2 separate regions of the Homo sapiens genome follow, and region 1 is linked to region 2. The links are contacts of gene promoters, found by promoter capture Hi-C in human tissues and cell types (Jung and others, 2019). All regions are on one chromosome and are shown on one strand. The core of a region is centred on a gene start or on the middle of the fragment in contact, and the rest is flanking DNA. Distances in the headings are between cores, read along the strand shown. Region 1 has its middle 16 kb from the start of MC5R. Region 2 holds the start of MC2R (melanocortin 2 receptor).

Evidence for each region. The method cuts DNA at HindIII sites, captures the fragments that hold promoters and counts their contacts. A contact is called where the count stands out against the background at its distance.
Region 1: a fragment that was not itself captured here is called in contact with the fragment with the promoter of MC2R in region 2 in 3 of the 25 tissues and cell types used here (dorsolateral prefrontal cortex, mesendoderm cells and thymus).

What each region holds. Positions count from the first base shown.
Region 1 is chr18:13,836,644-13,843,332 of GRCh38, reverse strand. No RefSeq gene overlaps it. Among named protein-coding and RNA genes, the nearest start is that of MC5R, 16 kb to the right of the region's middle. The HindIII fragment of the contact is 9,332 bases long and covers 1-6,689 here.
Region 2 is chr18:13,912,290-13,919,051 of GRCh38, reverse strand. MC2R (melanocortin 2 receptor) reads left to right here and starts at 3,516. Exons shown (of 2, transcript NM_000529.2): 1 at 3,516-3,564. The HindIII fragment of the contact is 21,573 bases long and covers 1-6,762 here.

The DNA of each region.
Region 1 (6,689 bases), core at 2,444-4,943, 76 kb after region 2:
TCCATGTTCCCAGCTTGGTGCTGAGAGTTATCTCATTTATCTCTCACAACAGCACTATGAGGGAGGTAATATAAGTAACCCTGGCTGGGTGCAGTGGTTCATGCCTGTAATCCCAACACTTTGGGAGACCGAGGTGGGCAAATCACGAGGTCAGGAGATCAAGACCATCCTGGCTAACATGGTGAACCCCGTCTCTACTAAAAATACAAAACATTAGCCAGGCATGGTGGCGGGCGCCTGTAGTCCCAGCTACTCGGGAGGCTGAAGCAGGAGAGTGGCGTGAACCCGGGAGGCGGAGCTTGAAATGAGCCGAGATCACGCCACTGCACTCTAGCTTGGGCGACAGAGCGAGACTCCGTCTCAAAAAATAAATAAATACAGTAAGTATTCCTGAGTAACTGGTGGGATTATGGGATCTTATCAAAGTTAAGTATTTTGTCCAAGGCCATAAAAATAGTAGGCATGGAGCTGGATTTGAACCCCGTGACTTCAATTCTGAGTCACTGCATCATCACCTCTCATAACAGTACTTTTCTGGGTTCTGTCCCTATCTCTAAAAGGAAGTTCTTGCTTCCTCCTAGACATATTCCATCAAGTTATTTGGTTAACATTTTAGATTTATTGGTATGAGGACAATTTTTCATGTGTCCCAACTCTCTCTGATTGAATATCATCAAAGAGGTAGACTGCTACAAGGAAACAAAGAGTTGTAGCACTCTTCAGCAGGGGCTGGGAGGGGCCACCACTAAAGTCTATATAACATCACATCCTTGTTCAAAAATTCCCACACTGCTGAAACCTCTAGAAAATTGACAGGGGTACATAAAATGAAGCATGTTAATAGCTTGTAAGCTCTTAGACTTTGTTACCTCAAAGTGTAGTATAATTTCTACCAATATAACACTTTCTTAATGAGTTAAATTAGGTAAATGTATTCATAATGCAAACAAAAAGTCCCCTGCTTTTCTAGAGGCAGTTCTTAGTTTTTTTTTGTTTTTTTTTTGTTTGAGACAGAGTCTCGCTCAGTCACCCAGGCTGGAGTGCAGTGGCGCAATCTCGACTCACTACAATCTTCACCTCCCAGATTCAAGCAATTCTCCTGCCTCAGCCTCCCCAGTAGCTGGGACTACAGGCACGTGCCACCACGCCCAGCTAATTTTTTATTTTTTGTATTTTTAGTAGAAACGGGGTTTCACCGTGTTAGCCAGGATGATCTCGATCTCCTGACGTCGTGATTCACCCGCCTCAGCCTCCCAAAGTGCTGGGATTGCAGGCGTGAGCCACCGCACCCGGCCAGTTCTTAATCTTTTGTGGTTGATCTTCCTGCTCCCTGATCTCCCTATCTTGGCAGAATTCTGCGGAACATGGTCAAAGTCTGACGTTGAGATACTAGGGAATGTGAAGAAAGATGAACTTTCATTGTACGAGGGTATATGCATACCTAGAGGCTCTTCAAGACTTGCTAACAAACTATCAAATTTTTCAATTATACTACAGACTATATGCATCAGTAAAGGAGTATCTATATGGGTTTGCAGACAGAAACAACTAGATCATTCTCTCTGCAATTCTGCATAAATAATATTTAGATCTTACATACTCAGCACATGCTGGCAAAGTATATAACAGCTGTGGTTGTTTGCTACTTCTTTAATGATGATAATGTCAAAAGGAGATCAGCACTCTTGAGCATAAGAGGCTCTAGCCGCAAACTGTGGCATGTGTAGCAAATACGGATCTGCACAAAGTATATGAAACCCCTCTCACTAAATACAGGTAAAGCAGTACCCATGTAAGTAGTACATGAAGACTTCTTTTTCCTCTATTTCAAAAGGTATATTTAGGGAAACCATATATCTTAAGTTTTAACTTTTTGGCTGCTGTTCCCATTTCTCTTGAAATTCATTAAAGGTCATTTATAAAATATATATTAGATTATATCAGTATTAATAATTTTAAATATATGAAAGTATAATTCAGAATAAGTATTTGGTCAAAAAACATAGCTTTATAACTCTGGCCATAAATAATACATATCAACCTTTATTTGTAGTTCGCAAAGACAGCTTAATATTTAAATATCTATTAATGTAATATATCACATTAACAAATTAAAGGAGAAAAATGATCAGCTGATAGATGCTGGAAAAGCATTAAATAAAATTTAATATTCATTTATAATTTATTTATATGCCATCAGGAGGCCACTCGTGGTGGTTCTCACCTGTAATCCCAGCACTTTGGGAGGCCAAGTCAGGCTGATTTCTTGAGCCCAGGAGTTTGAGACCAGCCTGGGCAGCATGGCAAAAACCCATTTCTACAAAAAGTACAAAAATTAGCCAGACATGGCGTCAAGCCTGTAGTCCCAGCTGTTTGAGAGGCTGAGCGGGGAGATTGCTTGAGCCTGGGAGGTGGAGGTTGCAGTGAGCCATAATCGCCTCACTGTACTCCAGCCTGGGTGACAAAGCAAAACTGTCTCAAAAACAAAAAATAAAAAATAAGTAGATATAGACAAATGTTACAATTTGATAAAGCTGTGTGGTATTTATATGAGTTTTGTTGACTCCAAACTGTGTAGAGTTGAAATGTTTAATTAATACAAGGATTTTTTAAAAAAGAAGCCAACACGAGATGGTCCCATCTCAGCCTCCCAAGTAGCTGGGACTACAGACGCGACACCATGTCCAGCTAATTTTTGTACTTTTCGTAGAAATGGGGTTTTGCTATGTTGCCCAGGCTGATCTCAATGCACAAAAAGGTAGAATTAAATCTTTCCATGGTCAGAAAGATTCAATTCTACCTTTTTTTTTTTCATTTCTGCCTAAAGAAAATATCATTTGCAGAATTTCAATTTATCCACACCCAGAGAGGGAAGCTAACTGAATCTGAATACATAGGGGAGAGAAGATGAAATGGTTTATTTGCTCAAGGGATGAAAGCTAGTTCACTATTAACCATGGCCCAAAACTAATTAGGCAGCAACTAGGATATTGTTGGAATAAAACAATATTCCAAAGTCAAATAGAGACATTTACTCTTTCGAATTATCCATGCCACCATACTTTCCCTTTGAGGTACTTGGTAAGAAACCACTAAACCACAAAATACTATTTGGTCATAGGTTTCAGAGATTCAAAGAAGGAGGGCGCTTGGTAGGAACACTGGGCAGAGTTTATTTGCTTCAAAAGGGAATGTATCATTAGCATCTTAGCGACAAAATTGTTATTTAGCAAAAAGATAGGAAATAACATGAGGAGTAGAATTAGAAATCTGTGCAGTTGAGGTAGAGGCCTCTGAATTTTAAAGACTATCCTTTGAACAGTTGCAAACAGAAAGAAGACACAATCTCTGTGCATAATGTGTCAGCTGTGATGCAGAGGAGTGCCCATTTGATGGGTCCCATGATGAGAAGTCTGGCTGGATGAGAACCATGGCACAGGAAGAAGGTGAGGTGGGACCAGAGCTATGGAATCCCAGACCCTCCTGGCCAAGATTCTCACCAACATGCTGACGCAGAGGGGCTGATGAGTAGCCACAAAATCTTATGAGACATGTATCTGAATATTATCTGTAATGTGTCATTTCTGTTATATTAATACTAAATATTAAAAGTATTGAAGGAATAAATGAAGAAGGCACAAGTGTCTGAACATGCTGGATTCATTAGAATGGATAAGATGGGTGTATTTTTACACAATGCTTGAACAGGTCCATTTTATCTGGAATATTCCACAATTTTTACACACTCATTCTTCTTTTAGGTATGTTTGCTTAGATCGATATGCATACAAACACTAAGTTACTGAATTAATACATAGGTCCTTCCAGAGCCCTCAAATTTAGCTTCACCACATCCAGAGTATTCTGTGAAGAGAGGAATAAGTGAGGCTTTTGTCAAATGAATTTAATTAGACTATATTAGTGGAACCCCTTTGAGGTTCAGTTCAGACCATTTTAATCAAAAGGAATAAAATAAAAATTACCTGCTTCTAAAATTGTGCCTTCCAGCTGTTCTTTTTTTTTTTTTAAAGGCCAGAACTGAACACATTCTCAATTAGTCACCTAGCTCACCCACCAGACCCCTGGGTGGTCTGTGGTTCTCAGTCTAGTTGGCTTGAGCCTGGTGCCAGGGACACAAAAGTGAGGTATTTTCTCCATGAGAGAAGACTTTTGCTTGGTTTTGGGGTGCTGCCCTAAAAATCCAGGCGACGTGTCCCCAGCATTCCTTTGGTTGGTGGGAGTGCATCCATCCTTTCTACTGTGAAGGGCGGCGTGTAAGGCAGACAAACCTGGACACCCACAGGAGCGGTGCCTCCTGTAAACTGCTTTTCCCCGGCAGCGTCCTTCACATCCTTGGCATGTACCGAAGCCTTGGCCATTCCTCTCACTGTGGGGGAAGGCTGGTGCCCCGCCAGCTATGCCATGGGTGCCACTGCACCTTTTGTTCTGCCACCTCGGGCACTGTTCCGTCCATGCACATGGTGTGGGAGAGGCTGTGTCATTCTTGCCTTGTAAACCTGAGTCTGGAGGCTAGAGCACCCTCAGGAAGAGCCTTTCTTGCCCTTTTTCTTATCATTTTGAAGAGCCTGTTGCCTTTCTATGTACACAGACTCTACAATGGAGCCAAATATAAGAGGTCTGTGATCCTGTAGCCTGAATCAGAAGACATAGCTGGCTTCTCATGTCGCCATCGATTTGTATTGGATCTCTCTCTTTCTCAGTGTCTCATATTAAGTATCATGGTAATTGTACCTAAGAATATTAGGAAAAGATCTATCATGGCCTTCAGGACTGGAGGAACCTCAACAATCTACAGACCAGCTGGCTCCTAGCTGCTCTCCGTGAAACTGACCATTCCGCAGAGAGAGTTGATGAGTCCAGGCTCCTCCTGCCCAGGTTCTTGGCACATCCCTGGCCCCTGGAGCTCCTAGGACTCCACCTGAAGTTTGAAAACCACCAGGCCTAGTCAAACTCTCCCCTTTACAGCAAGTGCAGCTGAAATGAGGGAATTTCCAAAACATATGCAGTTACTTCATATCACAAGAATTGCGGCCGGGCGCAGTGACTCACACCTGTAAACCCAGCACTTTGGGAGGCTGAGGTGAGCAGATCACCTGAGGTCAGGAGTTCAAGACCAGCCTGGCCAACATGGCAAAACCCCATTTCTACTAAAAATACAAGAATTAGCCAAGCATGGTGTCACATGCCTATAATCCCAGCTACTTGGGAGGCTGAGGCAGGAGAATTGCTTGAACCCGGGAGGCGGAGGTTGCAGTGAGCCAAGATCGTGCCACTGCACTCCAGGCTGGGCGACAAAGTGAGACTCTGTCTCAAAAAAAAAAAAAAAAAAAAATTGCAAGAACCCAGGTCTCCTGCTCCAGGGCTCAGTATGTGTTCTACTGCCCCACAGTTCTTCCTACAAAATGAGGAAAGGCTTATTTATCTAATTTGTGAGGGCAACTATATATTCTTTATTATGAAGGAATTCACTTTGACAACAATTATGAAGCCCAGACTGAGTTACTAGCACGAGTTCTAGGGGTAGCTACATCCCACTCTGAACTTTCCGGTTATAATCCTTGCCTTCTTTCTCGGCCTTCACAGAAAACCCAGACTCAAGCCCCGCCCTCCTTTTCCTGGAAAATGCCAAAGCCAACTGCGTAAGAGGTTTTTTTCTCCCAGGAAGAACCTTGTCTTCCTAGAAAACAATCTCCACCTCCCCACACTTTGCTGTATGAGGCAGAGAACAGCCCCAAACATGGACAGGCCTCGGTGGAAAGGGTGCGTTGTTGCTGTTGTGAATGGGATGACACGGCCTCCTGGCCTAGCGGCCCAGGTCCCTCGCGGCAGGGGCTGGATTTCCCACCCAGAGCGGAGCTCATGGCCTGCAGCACCGCAGAGACGGTTCCTGGGAGGAGCGGGGCCAGGGAGTTCCTGGGAACGTGCTGTTTTCATTACTGATATTCCCGAGGGCTTCTCTTTGGGGTTGAAGGAGTAGGAGGAACTGTGCCTTCTTAAGAATGTGAGAGGGCCGGGCGCGGTGGCTCACGCCTGTAATACCAGCACTTTGGGAGGCCGAGGCGGGCGGATCACGAGGTCAGGAGATCGAGACCATCCTGGCTAACACGGTGAAACCCCGTCTTTACTAAAAATACAACAACAAAAAATTAGCCGGGTGTGGTGGCGGGCGCCAACAGTCCCAGCTACTCGGGAGGCTGAGGCAGGAGAATGGTGTGAATCCGGGAGGCGGAGCTTGCCAGTGAGCCGAGATCGTGCCACTGCTCTCCAGCCTGGGTGACAGAGCGAGACTCCCTCTCAAAAAAAAAAAAAAAGAACGTGAGAGAAAGAGGACACTGAGGTGAGGGGAAGACGGGAAGACAAAGCGCGGCGTCTGCCCGTGTCCGGAGCCCTGCGCTGAGTTCTCACTGAGAGCAGGACTGGAGGGCGGATCCTAGGAGCACTGTTTCCATGGCTCCCTAGAAAGAGGCCAGGCACAAGAAGGGCAGGACAGAGCCCAGGGCGGGGAGTCTGCCCGCTTCCGTAGCAGCCCCAGGCACGCGGCTCTGGAAGCTTGTCCACAGATCTAGCTGTCGCTCCTCGCCCTGCAGTCGCTCCTCGTGCAGCCTTATCCTGTGACTGCGGGCACTGCCCGTGCTGTGCCCTTCTCTTGCGCAACTGCCTGTCTGATA
Region 2 (6,762 bases), core at 2,267-4,766:
CTGTGACCTGTTGACCGAGCCCACGCTTTCTGCTGGATACTCTCATCCACAAACAAGTTACCTACCCACGAGGTCTTTTCCAAAAAGGCAGGCCCCACTCACTCCCTATCCACTCCCCCTCCACACCTTCTCACATCAAAATACTCCCTATGCACTCCCCCTCCACACCTTCTCACATCAAAACTTCTGAAAGCCCTCGCCATGTCTTCATCTCACTTCTATGTAGAATAATTAAAAAGTCGAATCCTTAGGAAGAGAGGAGAAGGGTGGCTGCCAGGGCCTGGGGTGGGGTCCTGGGGCAATGCTGGTCAAAGGCCATGAAGTTTCAGGGTTACAGGAGGAGTAAGTTCTGCAGGCCCGAGGTACAGCATGGTGACTGTAGCTAATCATGTGTTGTATGCTTGAAATGTGCAAAGAGAAGGGCAGGGGATGGTGGCTCACGCCTGTAATCCCAGCACTTTGGGAGGCCGAGGTGGGTGGATTGCCTAAGCTCAGGAGTTCGAGATCAGCCTGGGAAACACAGTGAAACCCCATCTCTACTAAAACATAAAAACTTAGCCGGGCATGGCGGCGTGCGCCTGTAGTCCCAGCTACTTGAGAGGCTGAGGCAGGAGAATTGCTTATACCTGGGAGGCAGAGGTTGCAGTGAGCCAAGATGGTGCCACTGCACTCCAGCCTGGGCAACAGAGGGAGAGCCCATCTCAAACACAAAACAAAACAAAACAAAAGAAAAAGAAAAAGAAAAGGAAATGTGCAAAGAGAGCAGATCTGAAGTGTTCTCACCACACACACAGAAAGGCAACTGCAGGCCGATGGGTATGTTCAGTAGATTGGCTGCAGTCAGCAGTCCACTGTGAGTATACACACAAAACATCATATACACCTTAAATATATACAATATTTATTTAAAATTTAAATGTAAATGTTTCATAAGAGCTTGTCCATGCTTGCTGTCTCCTCTCCTCACTTCCCATTTCCTCCTCAAGCAGCTCCCACCAGGCACCCACCTCTACCACTGTCCCGTCTCCCCTCTGGCCCCTACAACCCGTGGAGAGGATCCTTTAAAGCCTGAATCAGGTCATGTCATCCTAGTCCTGACTCCTCATCGTTCTTACAGGAAAGTCTTAAGTGCTATCATGGCCTCTGTAGAGCCACTGAACTTCTCAGATCCCCATCTATAAATGGGGTCTGTAAGGTGACTTCACACATGTGCTGAGAAGATTAAATGTCGAGATATGTACAGCACTGAGAACATTCATCATGGCTGGCACATAGGAAACCCACTGTGGATTCTTACCATTGCTTCCACTGCAGATTTCAGCAAAGACATTTGTGAGTTACCTTCCAACCCCAGCATTTTCTATGTCAGAATGGGGCAGTCCTGCAAACACAAAAGACAGATCCCCGGCCCTGTCTCTTCTTCCTGTCCCCTTCTGTTTCCCCATTGCATCTCCTTTCCCCTTGCTCTGCCTCCCAAGCCTCCCCCACCCTCTCACTCTTTCTCTCTCTCTGCCTCTTTAGCTTTTCCATGAGAGGGACAAGCACTGGGGAGGAAGTTGTATTTGTGAAAGTGACCGAGTTGTATACGATTGTGTGAGAAGAGAAGAAAGGGTGCATACAGAAGCCCTTTGAATGCTCCCTAAAATTCCCCTTTTCCATCGTATCTCTTGGGATGAGAGAGAGACTGGGCTGGTGACGGAATGGTGGCGCAGTTGTAACATGGTCATCAGAGTTCATCTACCAGCATCTCCACTTACAAGTTTGCTTTCCAATGATCACCAGCTGAATGGGTTTCCCTACAGCAAAGATATTTCTTTTAAAATACCACTATTTCAAGAGTGTTTGGACAGGGTTATAACAAAAACCATAGGTATTGGCATATGGTTTTAGATTTCCCTGAGCACTGTTACAAACCTAGTCTGAATTCTCACAACAGCCCGCTTTACACCAGGCAATGGAGTCCTAGAGGCCTGGCACTCAGAACTCTGACCGCGTGTCTTCTGGTTCTAAACTCTGTCATTTCTACTCTGCTCCTTCCAAGAGATTTTTGCCCCCTTTTCTCTAAAAATTGGAGAGAGATGAGCCCCCAAAATGGAAGAACTAAAATAGCAATAGCTACTCTCTTTGCAGGGCTTAGCCAAACCCCTAGGCAACCTTCCCCCTGCTGGAAGTCTCTCCCTGTCCCTCCCAATCAGAGTGGCCCAGGTCCCACCCAGGGGACTGGCCGAGGCTCGCCTCCTCCAGACAGTGTTCCCATTGTCTGCAGCCTGCCTGATGTCCCACTCCCCAGGGCTGGCCACCGGTTTTCCCAATCAGCTAATCAGATCCACAGATCTCTGACAAAGGGCCTCTGCTTCTGCAAGTACAAGGGCTAAGGACGAGTTGTCTCTACTTTTCCAGATAATACAGTAGCTTTCTGGAGGCAATGCCTTGCTTTTCTCTGTTATCTCAACTACATGACTGAAGAGGGAAAGAGGCCTGTGGAACGCCGGGTTTCAGCTGCAGGGCATGTTGCGGAGGCACACACCTACTCAGAAACAGTCGAAGTCTGGGATGATCCTGGGTCCATGAGTTCCTGGGGACAACACGCTTTGCCTCAGTGACAGGCCAGGAAAAGCCACTTTATAAAATTGTGTTTACCCGCCTGGCAAATTCAACTCAGGTCTCTCTCTTTGGTCTTTTCCAGACCACCCACGTGTGAACACTTTTTAGCTTGGGGCGGAAGCTCACATTTCAGAAACAGCCACTGGTTTGGCCCCAGCCCCAAAAACCCAGGACCATCTGGAAACTTGGCCCAATTCCACACTTCAACATTCCTGTTGCTGTGACTGACACCAACAGTAGCCCTTCCCTGCAGGCCCCGGCAGGCAGAAAACACACAGCATTGCACCCTAAAATGGAAGAATTTTGCTTTGAATGATGGCTCTTATCTATGGCGGTTTCTGTGAAGTTTTTGGACGGAGAAGCATTGGCAGAACACAGGGTTTTTTTCTTGTCTGGACCCATGCGTCATATGTGCACTTGAGCACACAGTTCCCTCACTCTCATTGTTTAGTCTTGTGAAATAGGGATAATGGGGCTATTCCCTTCTTCTTAATGAAACTAATGAGCCAAATATTTGCAAGATATATCAAGAAGTTTGCTAGAAGTTTTAAAACAAATTCTTCCAAAACCATTTTCTCAAAAACCTGATTTATTTAATTCCTTAGTTCTTTTTGGAAATAAATGCAACTCTAAAGTGGCATTTAAAAAGAGCAAGATGACAATTCCATAATCTGCTAGAAACATTGTCATAAACATTGGAAGTAACCTTGACTAGCTGAGCTCATGGAAATTATGTCTTCATCTGCCTGTGTCTTTCCATTTCTCTAACTTCACATTACCAGAAATGCACAGTTCATGTGGGATGACATTTATTCAAGGTAATGATAACAATCTAGCTGTATCTCCGGTGATGCATGTGTTCCGGCCCTTCCCGGCCCAAGGTCCACTTGCTTGCTTTTCTCTCCGAGCTCATTCCTTCTCATTCATTTTGCCCAGAAAGTTCCTGCTTCAGAGCTGAAGGTAAGTACATTTTCCACTAATTCCTCAGCTTGCTAAGTGCTTTTGGACCATGAATAGAGCAGCTAGGAACAAATCTGAGAAGAGGTACTATTCAGAATTCCTCCAAATAGCTCATCTTTTTAATTATGGGCTTTCATCCTTCCTAAGGGAGTTTATTATTTTTCTAATTAAACTACTACAATGAAGGCTATTACCTTTTTGTCTAGCTAAAACAATCTTCCCTATTAATGAATTTATTGGCTTCTCTAGTACTCTTCAAATTGTCATTGAGCTCTATTCAAGGACTACAGCCAGTTTTTTCCTAATAGAATTAGGGGTGAAACAAATCATGCTTCTATTATCACTTCTGGAGTTAGCCCCTTCACCTGATCAGCTTGTCTAGGTGTAAGAGTGCGGGGGTTTTAGCGCCACAAAGACGTGGGCATGCGGCAGCTTCCTGAACCTCAGGCATTGGTGTCTAAGCAACTCCACCATCCACACGTGTGACGTTACAGTTCTGGGAGATGCACGCACACTTTCTGTGCCTTTCTCAACCACTAGCTCAGTCAGCCTCCACCTTCCTAGGCAGCAACACGGGGTGCAGGATAAACAATAACTAAAAGCATACTGATTATCACATACTCCTGCAAAGTGTTTGCACCCAGAAAGCATGCAGTCACTGCCATCATGAGGGGCTCACACCTTCCTTTGGCTGGCTCTGTCGGGGGGCACATGTTACCTAGAAAAGAGGCCCAGGCATTCGATTAAACAGCTCTTCTTCATATTTCAGTTTGTCTAAGCTGCCTTCAGATAACTGTCCCCATTCTTCACTTACACACACACACTCATACACACACATATACACACATACACGTGCACACTTGTAAACATACATACATACATGCATGCAAAAAGTCCAAAAGGGATAGGAATGGGAAAGGGGTACAAAGGGGTCCAGAGAGTACAGCCTTGAGCAGATCAGAAGGAGGAGTGCTCCTCACATGCCCTCCCCACCCCATCCCCGGAGTGGGAGTGAAGCGGTGGTCACAGGCTCTGCTCACACATTCATGCCTAGATCAAGCTGTACCGAACCCTTATGTGCTGGGCCTTGTTGCAAGCCTAAGTCAGAGTGGAGCCTCCTGGAGCCCCGGCGCTGAGGACAGCGCACACTGAGACAACACTTCACACTAGCTCCCAGACAGGACACACACCCACAAAGAGCTGTGGGAGCAGGGAGACGGGAGCCCTCACCCTGCCTTTGGGACACCGCTTAGGCCGCGGCAGGGGTGGAGGAGGGCATGAACCAGGGTAATGGGGTAGATAAGCTCCAAAGCCATCCTGACTTCTCAGTGGATCCTGAATCTCTGGCAGAGGAGGTTTTTGCTCAGCAGCAAATTGCCCTCTCACTGCCTCAGAGCAACTTAAGACATCTTAAAAAAAAAAAAAAATCCTATTCTTTACCTTGTTAATGATCCCAGGTATGTTTCCTATGGAATCCTTAGTGTCTAATACATTTTAATGAGAGCTTTCTTGTCTGTGTAAGCCACATTCCTTGCCTTCATTAGGCAAATATAATTGCTGTGGGCCAGGTTGTCTGCAGGGCTCAGCCTCAGACATGGTCAGGGCAGGTCTTATCCTAAGGAACTCAGATCCATCTGCAGGGTTTTCATGTGAATAATGCCGTTGTAGAAATAAGAACAAACAGCTACAGGTGCATAGACGGGCAGCAATCCTGGGCTCCCTTGGGATGCGGGGGCAGTGGAAGAGAGTCTGTACTTGGGCAAGGACACAGTGCTGAGTGTGAGAAGTGAGGAAGGACGTGTCCAGGCCCAGGGAGAGAGAACGTGTGAACAGACAGGCAAGCGCTGGTGCAGACCCACCCAGTGGGCCTTAAAGTGTGGTGGAGTCCTAAAGTCTTAACTTCTCTGTTCTCTGACTATGAGCCGCCAGGGTACAAAATTTGGAAGATGGTTTTAAAGTAAGTTCTCAACTCAAAATATGCGTGTGCCAAGCGCTGTGCTAGCAGCATGGGTAACGCACAGAGCCTGACTTGGTGGGAGAACAACATGTGCAAACTACAGAGACTAATCAACCTAGTAGGTGTCCCAGCATCAAAACCTGGGGGCAGCAAGCGTTTGTGTGAGCAGCACAGCCGTGGCAGGGAAAGGTCCGAGTGGGTCACACTGGCAGGAAGGCACCGTGGAGGAAGCCTGCCATGAGCAGTGAAGCTCAGAGGACGGGAGATGTGAGCGGGTGGAAGGTGGTGGTCCAGGTGAGGCTGTGCAGGGAGCTGAGCATCACACTGATTTCCAACCAGAACACTCCAGCCTGGGCTTCATGCCTCCCTAGCTGTGAGCTCCTGCAAAAGCTTCCATTCTCGGGACTTTCCTTCGCTCGTCCTAAGATGTGATCACATTGTCATTCATGCCTAATTTCCAGTCTTGTGTATATTAAAAAAGAAATTATACTGTAAGCAGCAGTTCTCTGTGAAGTGTCGGAAAAGCTGTAAACCTGCCCAGCGGCCTGCAAGATGATCACACCGAGAGATGCTTCTGCCTGTGCCCGGCATGGGGAAAAAGAATAAAGCCACCCCCAAAATAAGGCTCCCTTGAAGGCCTCTCATAATTGAGCCTATGCGGAATTCAAAACAAGATGTGCGCTGGATTCAGATGAGCCATTGCCTACCATAGCGAGCTCTGCTGGCTGCAGCCAGTCTTCACAGTGATAAGCGTAACTTATAACTCTGTAAGATCAACATCAGTAAGTTCAAGGAAAACTGACTTCAGCTGGAGACAGTGACTGGGCCCTAGCAAAGCAGTTGGGATGGTCCGGGAGCAGAAAACAACGTAGAAATTCATCTGTCCTTGAATTTTTCCTATTTCAACAGAGTATTGATTAATTGATTAATAATAATCTACAAGTTTTATTATGGTGCTATGTTGTTATTTTGTTTTATTTAGCACCAAAACAGCCTCAGAGTCCTGAGCCCCTCAGTTCCCAGCTCCTCCCACAGCTCTTGGCCCAACCTGACCCGGTCCTCCTACCCATACCTGTTTCAGAGCTAGGCTTGTCCTGCTTCCAAACACTCAGCCTCTCAGGCTCTTTGGAATAACCAAGCGAGCACAGACCTTGGAATGAGGCAGATTCGCAGCTGGGTGACCTTAAGCAAGTAACCCAACCTCCCTGAGCCTCCGTTTTCTTATCTATAATATAGGCAGG